Linked DNA regions of Homo sapiens: all the other regions are linked to region 4. The links are contacts of gene promoters, found by promoter capture Hi-C in blood cells and fetal thymus (Javierre and others, 2016). All regions are on one chromosome and are shown on one strand. The core of a region is centred on a gene start or on the middle of the fragment in contact, and the rest is flanking DNA. Distances in the headings are between cores, read along the strand shown.

The links. The method cuts DNA at HindIII sites, captures the fragments that hold promoters and counts their contacts. A CHiCAGO score of 5 or more calls a contact.
Region 1: a fragment that was not itself captured here is called in contact with the fragment with the promoter of LRRC70 in region 4 in 4 of 17 cell types (fetal thymus, naive CD4 T cells, naive CD8 T cells and 1 more); the score reaches 8.0 in fetal thymus.
Region 2: a fragment that was not itself captured here is called in contact with the fragment with the promoter of LRRC70 in region 4 in 1 of 17 cell types (monocytes); the score reaches 5.9 in monocytes.
Region 3: a fragment that was not itself captured here is called in contact with the fragment with the promoter of LRRC70 in region 4 in 2 of 17 cell types (monocytes and M1 macrophages); the score reaches 11.6 in monocytes.

The regions. Positions count from the first base shown.
Region 1 is chr5:62,405,086-62,407,785 of GRCh38, reverse strand. No RefSeq gene overlaps it. Among named protein-coding and RNA genes, the nearest start is that of DIMT1, 2.5 kb to the right of the region's middle. The HindIII fragment of the contact is 3,071 bases long and covers 1-2,700 here.
Region 2 is chr5:62,721,384-62,724,083 of GRCh38, reverse strand. No RefSeq gene overlaps it. Among named protein-coding and RNA genes, the nearest start is that of LRRC70, 140 kb to the right of the region's middle. The HindIII fragment of the contact is 2,904 bases long and covers 1-2,700 here.
Region 3 is chr5:62,777,856-62,780,555 of GRCh38, reverse strand. No RefSeq gene overlaps it. Among named protein-coding and RNA genes, the nearest start is that of LRRC70, 200 kb to the right of the region's middle. The HindIII fragment of the contact is 2,685 bases long and covers 1-2,606 here.
Region 4 is chr5:62,577,555-62,580,254 of GRCh38, reverse strand. It overlaps LRRC70 (leucine rich repeat containing 70), which reads right to left and starts at 1,436. Exons shown (of 2, transcript NM_181506.5): 1 at 1,320-1,436; 2 at 1-854. The coding sequence starts at 816. All of the region lies in intron 27 of IPO11 (importin 11), which reads right to left. It overlaps IPO11-LRRC70 (IPO11-LRRC70 readthrough), which reads right to left and starts at 1,520. Exons shown (of 4, transcript NR_073584.1): 1 at 1,320-1,520. The HindIII fragment of the contact is 1,459 bases long and covers 878-2,336 here.

The DNA of each region.
Region 1 (2,700 bases), core at 192-2,691, 170 kb after region 4:
AGAAGCAAACCAAAACCCAACTCAGTGTATTTTATTTGCCATGCTTCCACATTCACCCTATAAAAGCCTTTCTTTGGTGCGCCTTTAACAGAGTCCCAAACTGATTCATGAATCACTGTCTGCTCAAATAAACATTTTAAGATTTTACTGTGCCTTAGTTTCTCTTTTAACAATGGTAATGATGTGGAAACATTTATCTGACAAATGTTTTTGAGAGGTATCAATTATGTAATATTCACTGACAAGGTTTACACCTATGCTGGTATTAAACAGAGACCATAATCATCTTCTTTAAATAATTGTATTAATCTAACATAGTCTTTATGATTATCTAAAAATATTTAGATCATTCTTTTTTGTTTGTTTGTTTTTGTTTTTGAGACAGGGTCTCACTCTGTTGCCCAGACTGGAGTGCAGTGGCGCAATCTCAGCTCACCGCAACCTCTGCCTCCTGCCTCAGCCTCCAGAGTAGCTGGGATTACAGGTGCACACCACCATACCCAGCTAATGTTTGTATTTTTAGTAGAGACAGGGTTTCACTATGTTGACCAGGCTGGTTTCGAACTCCTGACCTCAAATGATCCACCCGCCTTGGCCTCCCAAAGTGCTGGGATTATAGGCGTGAGTCACCATGCCCAGCCACATATTTAGATCATTCTAAAGAATACATTCATAGAAGAATCTTGTTTATAGTATTCAGGATTCCTTCCTTCCTTCCTTCCTTCCTTCCTTCCTTCCTTCCTTCCTTCCTTCCTTCCTTCCTTCTTCCTTTCCTTCCTTCCTTCTTCCTTTCCTTCCTTCGCTCCCTCCCTCCCTCTTTTCTTTCTTTCTTTGAGACGGAGTCTTATTCTGTCACCTAGGCTGGAGTGCAGTGGAGCAAACTCAACTCACTGCAACGTCTGCCTCACTGCAACCCAGCCTGGGCCACTATTTTAAAAATATAACATTTGAAGCCAGGCACGGTAACTCATGCCTGTAATCCCTGCACTTTGGGAGGGCAAGGCGGGCAGACCACTTGAGGCCAGTTCAAGACCAGCATGGGCAACATGGTGAAAACCCATCTCTACTAAAAATACAAAAAAAAAAAAAAAAATTAGCCAGCGTGGTGGTGGTGCACGCCTGCAATCCCAGCTACTTGAGAGGCTGAGGCATGAGAATAGCTTGAATCTGGGAGGCTGAGGTTGCAGTGAGCCAAGATCATGGCACTGCACTGCAGCCTGGGTGACAGAGCAAGGCTCTATCTTAAAATATATATATATATATATATTTATATTTATATATGTTTATATTTATATTTAAATATATATATTTATATTATATATATGAGTTGTGTCTTTAACAGCAAACAAAAGTTAGCCAGGGGAAGGTCGAGAATGCAAAAGGAAGAGCACTCACAAAGCCGAGGTATAAAGATGTTTAAGGAAGAAAAAGGAACTTGATAACGTTGGGAAGTAAATAAGTAAGGTAAATAGGAACTTAATTTGAAAGGCCTACAATGCTATTCTAGGGAGCAATAGTGGTCATTCATTGATGAATCAAAAGAACAATTTTGCCTTCTCTGCTCTTGTCTCCAGGCTGTGGTTACACAGCAGTACACATTGGAGATACTGGGCTCCACATTTAGCTGGAAGACATGCCATGTCTTCTTGAGTTCCCTCTAATCTTCCTCTCCCATTGCGCATAAAGGATCTTCAAACCTTCTCCGCACTCATGCCCCTTGTCCTACCACCTCCACAGCTCCTTCTCTACAGAAAAACTTGCCTTTTATTTCACAGAAGAAATGCAACCTAGAGGCCAAAGCAGGCAGATCACTTGAGCTGAGAAGTTTGAGATCAGCCTGGGGAACAAAGTGAGACCCCGCCTCTACAAAAATTACAAAAATTAGCTGGACAAGATGATTCATGTCTGTCGTCTCAGCTACTCGGGAGGCTGAGGTGAGAGCATCGCTTGAGCCCGGCAGGCGGAGGTTGCAGTGAGCTGAGATCATGCCGCTGCACTCCAGCCTGGGTGACAGAGTGAGACCGTCTCAAAAAAACAAAACCAAAAAACCCAACAACAACAACAATAACAAATCACACACAGGGTTTTGTGTCATGTTAATTTTTTTTTTTTAAACAGGGTATCATGCTGTCGCCCAGGTTGGTGCAATCTTGGCTCACTACAAATTCTCGGGCTCAAGTGAGGCTCCCACCTCAGCTTCCCGAGTAGCTGAGACTACAGGCCTGCACCACCACGCCTGGCTAATTTTTGTATTTTTTGTAGAGACGGGGTCTCACTTTGTTGCCCAGGTTGATCTCAAACTTCTCAGCTCAAGTGATCCGCTCGCCTTGGCCTCTCAAAGTGCTGGGATTACAGGCATGAGCCACCTCTCCAGGCCATGTCCATCCTATTAACATTTGGAAGTGCCTAGCACAGTGTACTCTTTAGAATTGTGGAATAACAATGATTGATGAAATGAAACATATACTTGAAGATGCTACTAGGGTATACGAGATTTTTTTTCTGACTTAGAACTACATCAAAGAAAGAAGGGCCTAAGACCAAGGTTTGGGAATGTACACAATGAATTGCTCAAAAGAGAGTTAGCTTTAGTAATGACAGGAAGAAGCTATTTCTTCAACCAAACAGAATACACACAGAAAAATTTAAAAGAGCCATTACACTGGCTGGCAAAACAGATGTGGATATTATGGCCCTGGT
Region 2 (2,700 bases), core at 31-2,530, 140 kb before region 4:
AAGACTAATAATGTAGAAGCTAAGCTCTGCCTGAACCAAAGTCATTGCCAACAGATGTTATCTCAAAGCAATTATCCACTGGGGTTCTGTGTCTTCTGATTCCACATAATGAGGTGCCAAAGAATGGGGCAGCCAGACAGCTGATGCAGTCCACAGAGATGCTTATAAATGGAAAAGGTTTGGGACTCCGATCTCATGGCCTTTGCTCCTTCTGCTTCTCTTGTTCCTAATCAGGGCTATCTTAGGGGGCATTTGGATCTGCAGGAGCAGCTGGGAGGGAGTTCTCATGTCATTCTGAGTTGATAGGCATGGCTAAGAGATGGCCTGACCAGAAACATCTTCACCTGACTCCAACCACCAACAAGATGGAAACCCTCTCTTTTGAGCACCTGATTGAGGTGAGTCCTAGAAGTCCTCTTTTTGAAAGCAGGAATGATAGAGCATTGTGTTTAATGCTACTAGAAGATGTTGACAAATAGCACGGCCACATAAAGCAAATTATTTTGTTTCATTACCTAAAAGCATTCCTCCAGAGAAAGATAAAGTTTGATTGGGGAGCAGAACAGGGAACTTAAGGCCAGAAAAGTCCCAAAGCTAACACAGTTCACCTCAGGGCATCCTTGCATCATTCCTTGCGAATGACAATATAAAATTAGCCACTTTTGAGCCTCCATGATAGCCACCGTCTTTTGGTGGCCTCGTATTAGGCATTTGGCTGCACAGGGAGGGCAATAAACTGACAAGCCTTCATTATGTCAATCATGTTATGCCATGAAGTGGAAGATGGCAGGCGATGGAAGATAGGTGAGAGTGAGATGCATACATATATACCCAAGTATTCATCAGAGCAATTTATCTTGAGATTCATATACACAAGCTGACCTTCAAAGTTCTTACTAACACTGCTATCTATCCAGAGGGAAATACTGTTAGAAAAGGTGAGGTCTATGCTACCTCTAGAGGCTATCCATGATAAGAATTGTTTCACTTAGCGGAAGCCAAGAATTTCTATTCTCATTTTTAAGAGTAATACTTTTTCCAGAGCTGAAAGGATGCCTGTAGCTCTCATCTTTAATAACCTATGTTCTTACCCTTTGTGTGACTGTCTAGCCTACTAATGACTTTCTCTAATCTTTGACAGTATTGTCTGTCTTTTCAAACTTTGGCATCTTCCAAGATTGGTACAAGGGACTTTGACACACCTGAGCACACCTAAAACCCTCACTCACTCTGCTACTCTCTCCTTCCTCTTCCTTCATGAGTTGGATCCTTCCTCTCCCCAATTATCTAAGTCACTCCTTTAGTTTTGTTTCCAGTAGTTTTCTCAAATACTTCTCTACTTAGAAGATGGGCAATTAGCATATATGAATGACTCCCGTAAACAAAATGTCCATAACTTCTCCTGATTCCAGCTACTCCATCACGCATCTGCCGCTATGTCTAGACTTCATGACACCTGAAACACTGCCATCATAGACACTGCTGCAGCGTGCATGGGCTCTCTCTTCCTCATGATGACACGAAGTTCCACTTCAGACCTCAAGGCGGCCAGTTCCAGTACAGTGCCCATCACTGTCTTCCTTGGTCTCAATAGCACTGCCCAATAGAAATACGACGTAAGCCCCATCTGTAAGTTTAAATTTTCTAGTAGCCACATTTAAAAAGTAAAAAGAAATGGGTGGGAGTAACTTTAATAACGTCTTCTCTAACTCAATATACCCAAACATCAATATGTAATCAAGACAAGAAAATTATGAATGAAATATTTTACCTTCTTTTCTTCTACTACCTCTTTGGAATCCGGTGTATATTTTACACTGCTGGGACATCTCAATTTGAATGCTTATATTTTCATTAGAAGTCCTTGGGTGGTATCTAGGTTTCATAAACTTTACAATCGAAAAGTAAATTCCAATACACAAGTTGTTCCAAATATGCTTAAACGTTTTCCAATAACCAAATCAGTATCCATTTTAAAATTTAAATTAATTAAAATTTAAAATTCAGTTCTACTTACAGCATCCCCCTGAGAGGCTGCTCCTTCTCCTATGGCCCAGGTAACTTCAGAATCAAATGGAGGTATTGCATTGTTCTTGTTCATCAATGATATTTCCAATTACGCTTATAACATGCCCACCTTCTTTGAAGCGCCATCTTCTCCTGCTCATCATTGCCTACTGACCTCCTAGTTCTTCCCCTTCATTTGCCAGACTCTGGCATCTGGTTTCCTCTCTTCCTCTCTACCCTAAGTCCTTCCACTCTTCTATTATAGATGACCTCAGTGCTCTGTGTCACAGCCAACACCTGGCCTCAGACTTTCCAGACCCCTGAATTTCAATGACCTTTAATTCCTTTCATTTCAGCTACCCACATCCACAACTGCCTTCTAGAATTTGTCATAATCCCAAAATACTCCAAGCCTCATATCAAATCTTCAGCCCACTCCATGTCCATGCTCCCTAAAATGTCCTAGACTTTACAGACGCTTGTCCCTGGAGACTTCTCTTTCCTTCCAGTCCATTGACCTAATTCTTGCACTTACAGCACAGTGGAAGAGTAAGGAAGAAATTTCTTGTAACCAAACTCCCTGGGGTTGCATCTAAGCTCTGCCACTTACTAGCTATGTGGCTTGGAGCAAGTTATTTAACCTCTGTGCGTCTCACTTTCCCCCTGTCTAAAATGAGGATAGCAACCCTATCA
Region 3 (2,700 bases), core at 15-2,514, 200 kb before region 4:
TCAAAACAATACGGCCTCCTCCTACATCTCTGAGAAATATGAACCTTTAGGGAGGCGTGCTATAATCATATGGTGACTTTGCTGACCCGTCGGCACCTTCCCCACACGCCTGAGGATACATGTGCCTCAATGTGCTACCACGTGGGACTGCCCTTCCATTAGCATAAGTAAGAGTGTGGGTCCACCTTTGGATATTGTAGCGTCTCATGATTTTTTTTTTATTTTTATTTATTTTTTTTGAGACGGAGTTTCGCTCTTTTTGCCCAGGCTAGAGTGTAATGGCACGATCTCGGCTAACTGTAACCTCCACCTCCCCAGTTCAAGTGATTCTCCTGCTTCAACCTCCCAAGCAGCTGGGATTACAGGCGTGTGCCACCATGCTTAGCTAATTTCATATTTTTAGTAGACGGGATTTCACCATGTTGGTCAGACTGGTCTCAAACTCCTGACCTCAGGTGATCTGCCCACCTCGGCCTCCCAAAGTGCTGGGATTACAAGCATCAGCCACCGCGCCCAGCCAGCATCTCATGATTAATAAATAAAATGCCAAGGCCCTGAAAAACTTTTGGAGAAAATGATTTTCTCCAAATCACAATGTGGGAGGAGATAGGCTAAACAGGGACCAGCTCTCTGAGCACAGCCTACTTTCATCTCTGGTCATAAACATCATAAAAACAGAACACAACACATTCGTGAACAAAGTTAGACCAACCATAATGCCAAAGTGATCTTAACAGAATCACAAATGTCATAGGCACCCTAAGGGAATGTCGTAAGGCATCCCTTAATGTCATAACATTTGAGAGAAGTGCCTGCTGTTTACCAAATACAGGTGAATAAATAAAGGAAATAAATAAATAAATAAATGTGCATCAGTGGCTCAGTTTGGGAATAAGGATGAAGAATTTGCATTCGAAATCCTCATAAAAGTCACATTAACCAAAGTTATGTTTCCATAAGACATAGTATTTGCAGATTGGGTCATCTGTACTGACCCTATGTGGCTGTTTCTGACCAAAAACATGCAGATTCCGACTAGTTCATAGCCCTTAGACAGGAGTAGCTATTGGTAAACATTGTAACAGCTGTAGGGAAATTAGACTTTCTTAATACTTAATATACAGAATGACAATACTACATGTACATATTTTGAAAAAAGAATATATACACTTACAGTGAGACAGTTTCAAACTATTTCGCTGATGAGAGGTACAATGTAAGTTATAAAATAATATCTAAACTCAAATAAGCACTAATATTAAAAGATAACTACTCTTTTACTTTTTAACTAAAATATTCAGGTGATTCTTAAATCGAACTTTAAATGATGTCCATGATATGTAAATCTTAAAAAAAAACAAATGGTATTTTCGTGTCTTGCCACAGTAGAGATGATCAGATACTTACCTCTAGGGGGAGCTCAAGGCTTTGTCTCTACTTAACGTTTTCTGTTTTCCCGGTGTTGCATGACAGAGCCCTTGGGATCTCTCCACTTGGGAAAAGATGCTCCACCCCATCCCTCTCATCCCCTTAAAAAGTTGCAAAAATTTGGGGTGGGAGGAGATGCTCAGGAGAAAAAGAGACTCTGGGAAAACTAATGGGCCAATCTCAGCCCACTAAGTGGTTATTTTTCTCTTTGGGGATAAAGCCTAACCATTATAAACCCAGTGTTTGCCTGGAGGATCCCCTTAGCAAATCCCTCAAACTACCAGTGGCAGCAGTATGAAACTGTGGACATTCATGCCCCATCATCCTTGGCTTCTTAGGATTACTGACTAGCACTCTTAGCACTTGTGGCTATATAAATACCGCTTTAATTTATACCAGCATTTCTCAAAATGGACTTTCAAAGAACACCAGTTTGACTGTAAGTTAGCAAATTTTATGTAAATAAAGGGTTGTCTGTCACAGAAGTTTAGAAAACACTGGGTTAAACTAAGTTCAAAAGTTTTCCTTTGTGCAGGACTTTTCATAGTCTGTAATGCATGATGACTCTCCAAAAGAAGGGACAAGTAGGAAGTGTTTCTCAAGTCTATATGACCACAGGTCTCTCTTTTAAGAGCTTCCTCTTAGGCCTGTTAGAACACTCCCTCAGACATTTTGCTCACGATTGCTGAGGTCGTGGTTAAGAAAAGAAGCACAGATTTGTTTTTTGTTTTTTGTTTTTTTAAACAACTCAGCCAAGTATATTTCAAACAAAAAGGGAGAGTTTGGTCTGAATTATCTGGATATCTGCTTCAATTAGCCATTCTAATTTACATGTACAATGAAAGCCTTGGAGTCCCACCTCCCTGCCATCACCTAATATTGTCTATGATAGGGAACTCATTAGGCCAACAGCATACAAAAATTTGGATTTATACTCAAAAAATGACTATTTACATCACAAAATGAGATTCGCCATAAAACTCCTTAAATCACAGATTCTCCCACCACATTTAAAAAATGATGCTACAAAATAACCATTAAGTTTACCCACTTACACATACTCAGCAAAACTCCTGGCTCACAGAGAGACACAATTGCATGTGGCATTGCACAGTGACCACTGCATTAAATACACACAGATGTAAACCCCTTCTTTTTAAAAGTTTTTCATGTAAGCTTTTTTCAGTAGGACACAAATTTTTTTTTATTATTCTGCCTCACTGTTTTTCTACCACATCTAGGCAAGTACAATCTGCATAAAAAATTGCTAGT
Region 4 (2,700 bases), core at 187-2,686:
AAACCCATCCCTAGTAACATTCCTAATTCTTGAATTTTTCAGGAGGAGGTATTCCAGATTGGCAAGTCCTTTAAATGCAAAGGGCTGTATTGCTTCAATAGGATTATGAGACAAAGAAAGTCTTCTAAGACTTTTAAGTACTTCAAAGGCATTTGATGGTACTTTTGTTAAATTATTACTTCCTAAATACAAACAAGCAAGGTTTTCAAGATGTTGAAAGCCTGATTCTGATATCCTCAAAATGTTATTGTTTGATAAATCAAGTATCCGAAGAGCAACCATACCAACAAAGGTACCACTCCCAAGGACAGTGAGGCGATTCCTTTGTAGATTTAAGTACTGAACTGAAACTAGATCATTAAATACTCCTCTCGGAACAAAAGATACCTGATTATACTGTAAATATAAATTACGAAGATTTAAAAGTCCCTTAAATATTCCAGGATCTAAGCGTTTGATGAAATTATTATTTAGAAATAGAAAATATAGATGCCTCAATTGAACAAAGGCTTTTGGATATACATACAGAATGTTAGAATTATCCAAATACAATGCTACAAGAGAATGAAGTCCTGTTAATTCACTTTCATTTATATAAGATATATTATTCCCAGTCAGATACAGAAAAACTGTACTTTCAGGAAAATTCTTAGGAATACTCGAAAGGCCTAAGTTACGGCAGTTAATTTGTCTCCCAGTGCAGAGCTGACAAACAGACGAACATCCAAGTATTTCTTTGTGGAGTAATAATAAAAGATAACAGGTAACAACCAGAAACAGTCGTAGGCAAGGCAGAGAAAACTGTAATCCACACATATCCCTGTTCTTGGATTTTCTGTTCAGATCAGAATTGGCTATAAAAAGAGAAGGTAAAGCTTTAAATCACGAAAACTTCATCAAATGAATTTTTTTTATAATACTATAACTTCTGTATTCTATTTTAATTAGGATCAGCCAATAATACTATCATAAATCATACCATGGTAATAGCAAAAAATAATGAGTATGGAATACGTTCTAGAATTATTAACATGATCAGGCCATTAACCCACTATTTGACAAAATAGTTCAGATTAATGAAACATTTGCTAAGTTAACTTAAAAATTACAATTGATTACAACACAGGTGACAAATGATGTAGGAATGAGAATCTTTGAATTTAATATGTCCCTTTAACAACATAAAGTCTAATATCAAATAACATTATAATTTATGAAAATACAAATTCACTACAGAACAATTAAATTCTAAATTACAGTTTTTCACAGAACTATTTTTCATGTCAGCTAGAAGTTCATATTTAAGTAAATAATCTTACCAAGAAAAGGAAATTCGTATTATTAACACTCAGCTGATTCAGTAAAGGTTTTCTTTTTAAATCTGAAGAACGACATTTCTTAACTCCAGTTTGTTCTGTGGCACTGCTGACCTCCACCCCACCACTTTTTTTTTTTTTTTTTTAAGTCACCGTTTGCTCAGGAAACACCACTCTTCACATTGGTTCCTTTACAGTCAATGTGTAAAACAGAGGTTGCCATGGATACAGGAAGCTAAGAGACAGGAAGTAATTTTATCTGTGTTTCAAAAGTATTGCTGAACGGAAATCTCAGGAACTTATTTTTTCAGAATGCAGTTAGAGTTTTCCTAATATACACATTGAAATATCTCCTATAATATAAAAATAATAGTTTTTAAAGGATACTTGAAAACATTAGTTATTCAGAACCCAAATATCAATCAACAGACTCTAGCTATCAAACAACATAGCTACTGAATGGAAAAGGCTAGTTCAAATAAGATGTATATCGAGTAATACAATTTTTTGTAAACTTTTTAATGAATAAAATATTTATGTTGTGTTAAATACGCATTGAAGACTTAAACTTTATGCTTTATTCCTTTAATAAAAATAGGGGAAAAAATTTAGAATGAACATAAATGTTGTTATATTATCCTCCAGTGCTCTTTTTAAAATTTTCAAAATATTTTTGGTTGCAAAAAATACTGAGTACTACTTAATACGTGAGGTACTAATTGGTAGTAAGCTACTAATTAGTAGTAACGCACTAATTGGTTGTGTTGGGTTATAAGATGTTAAGAAGCTGCATACCAACTTACTGACATAGGTTATCTTTGCAAGAAAAATTGGGGAGAGTAAAAGAGGCGATGTTTCGCCCTATATATATCTGTATCAGTTTGAATCTTTTAGAACAAAAATGGAGAATTTTTTAACGTCATTTTTCAAGAATTTAAAGAATCGGATATAAATTGTTTATATTATATATTGTTCAGTCATTAACTTTCTTTCATTAACTTTAAGCTAGTTGCTTAAGCTTTCTAATTCTGACTTTTATTAATATTACTAATAGCCTGATAATATTCCTAAAATATCAAGTTATATAATTGTATACAACTCTCCTTTGATATTAAAGCAGTTTCATTTCACATCAACAATTACTTTAGAAATAATATGAATTATGTCCATATTAGAAAGCTGAAATAATACCTAGCATTATCTTTCTATGACTAAAAATTCAGCAATGCATACTGGATAGCAGATCGTTATCAAAATGACTTATGATTCTTACACCTATCCATTATGGCTGGTTACTGTTATTGCTATTTTATGCATTAAAAATGGAAAACAAAACAAGTGACAGAAATGATATGAATTTGAGGTAGGGGCTATGTTTCTCAGG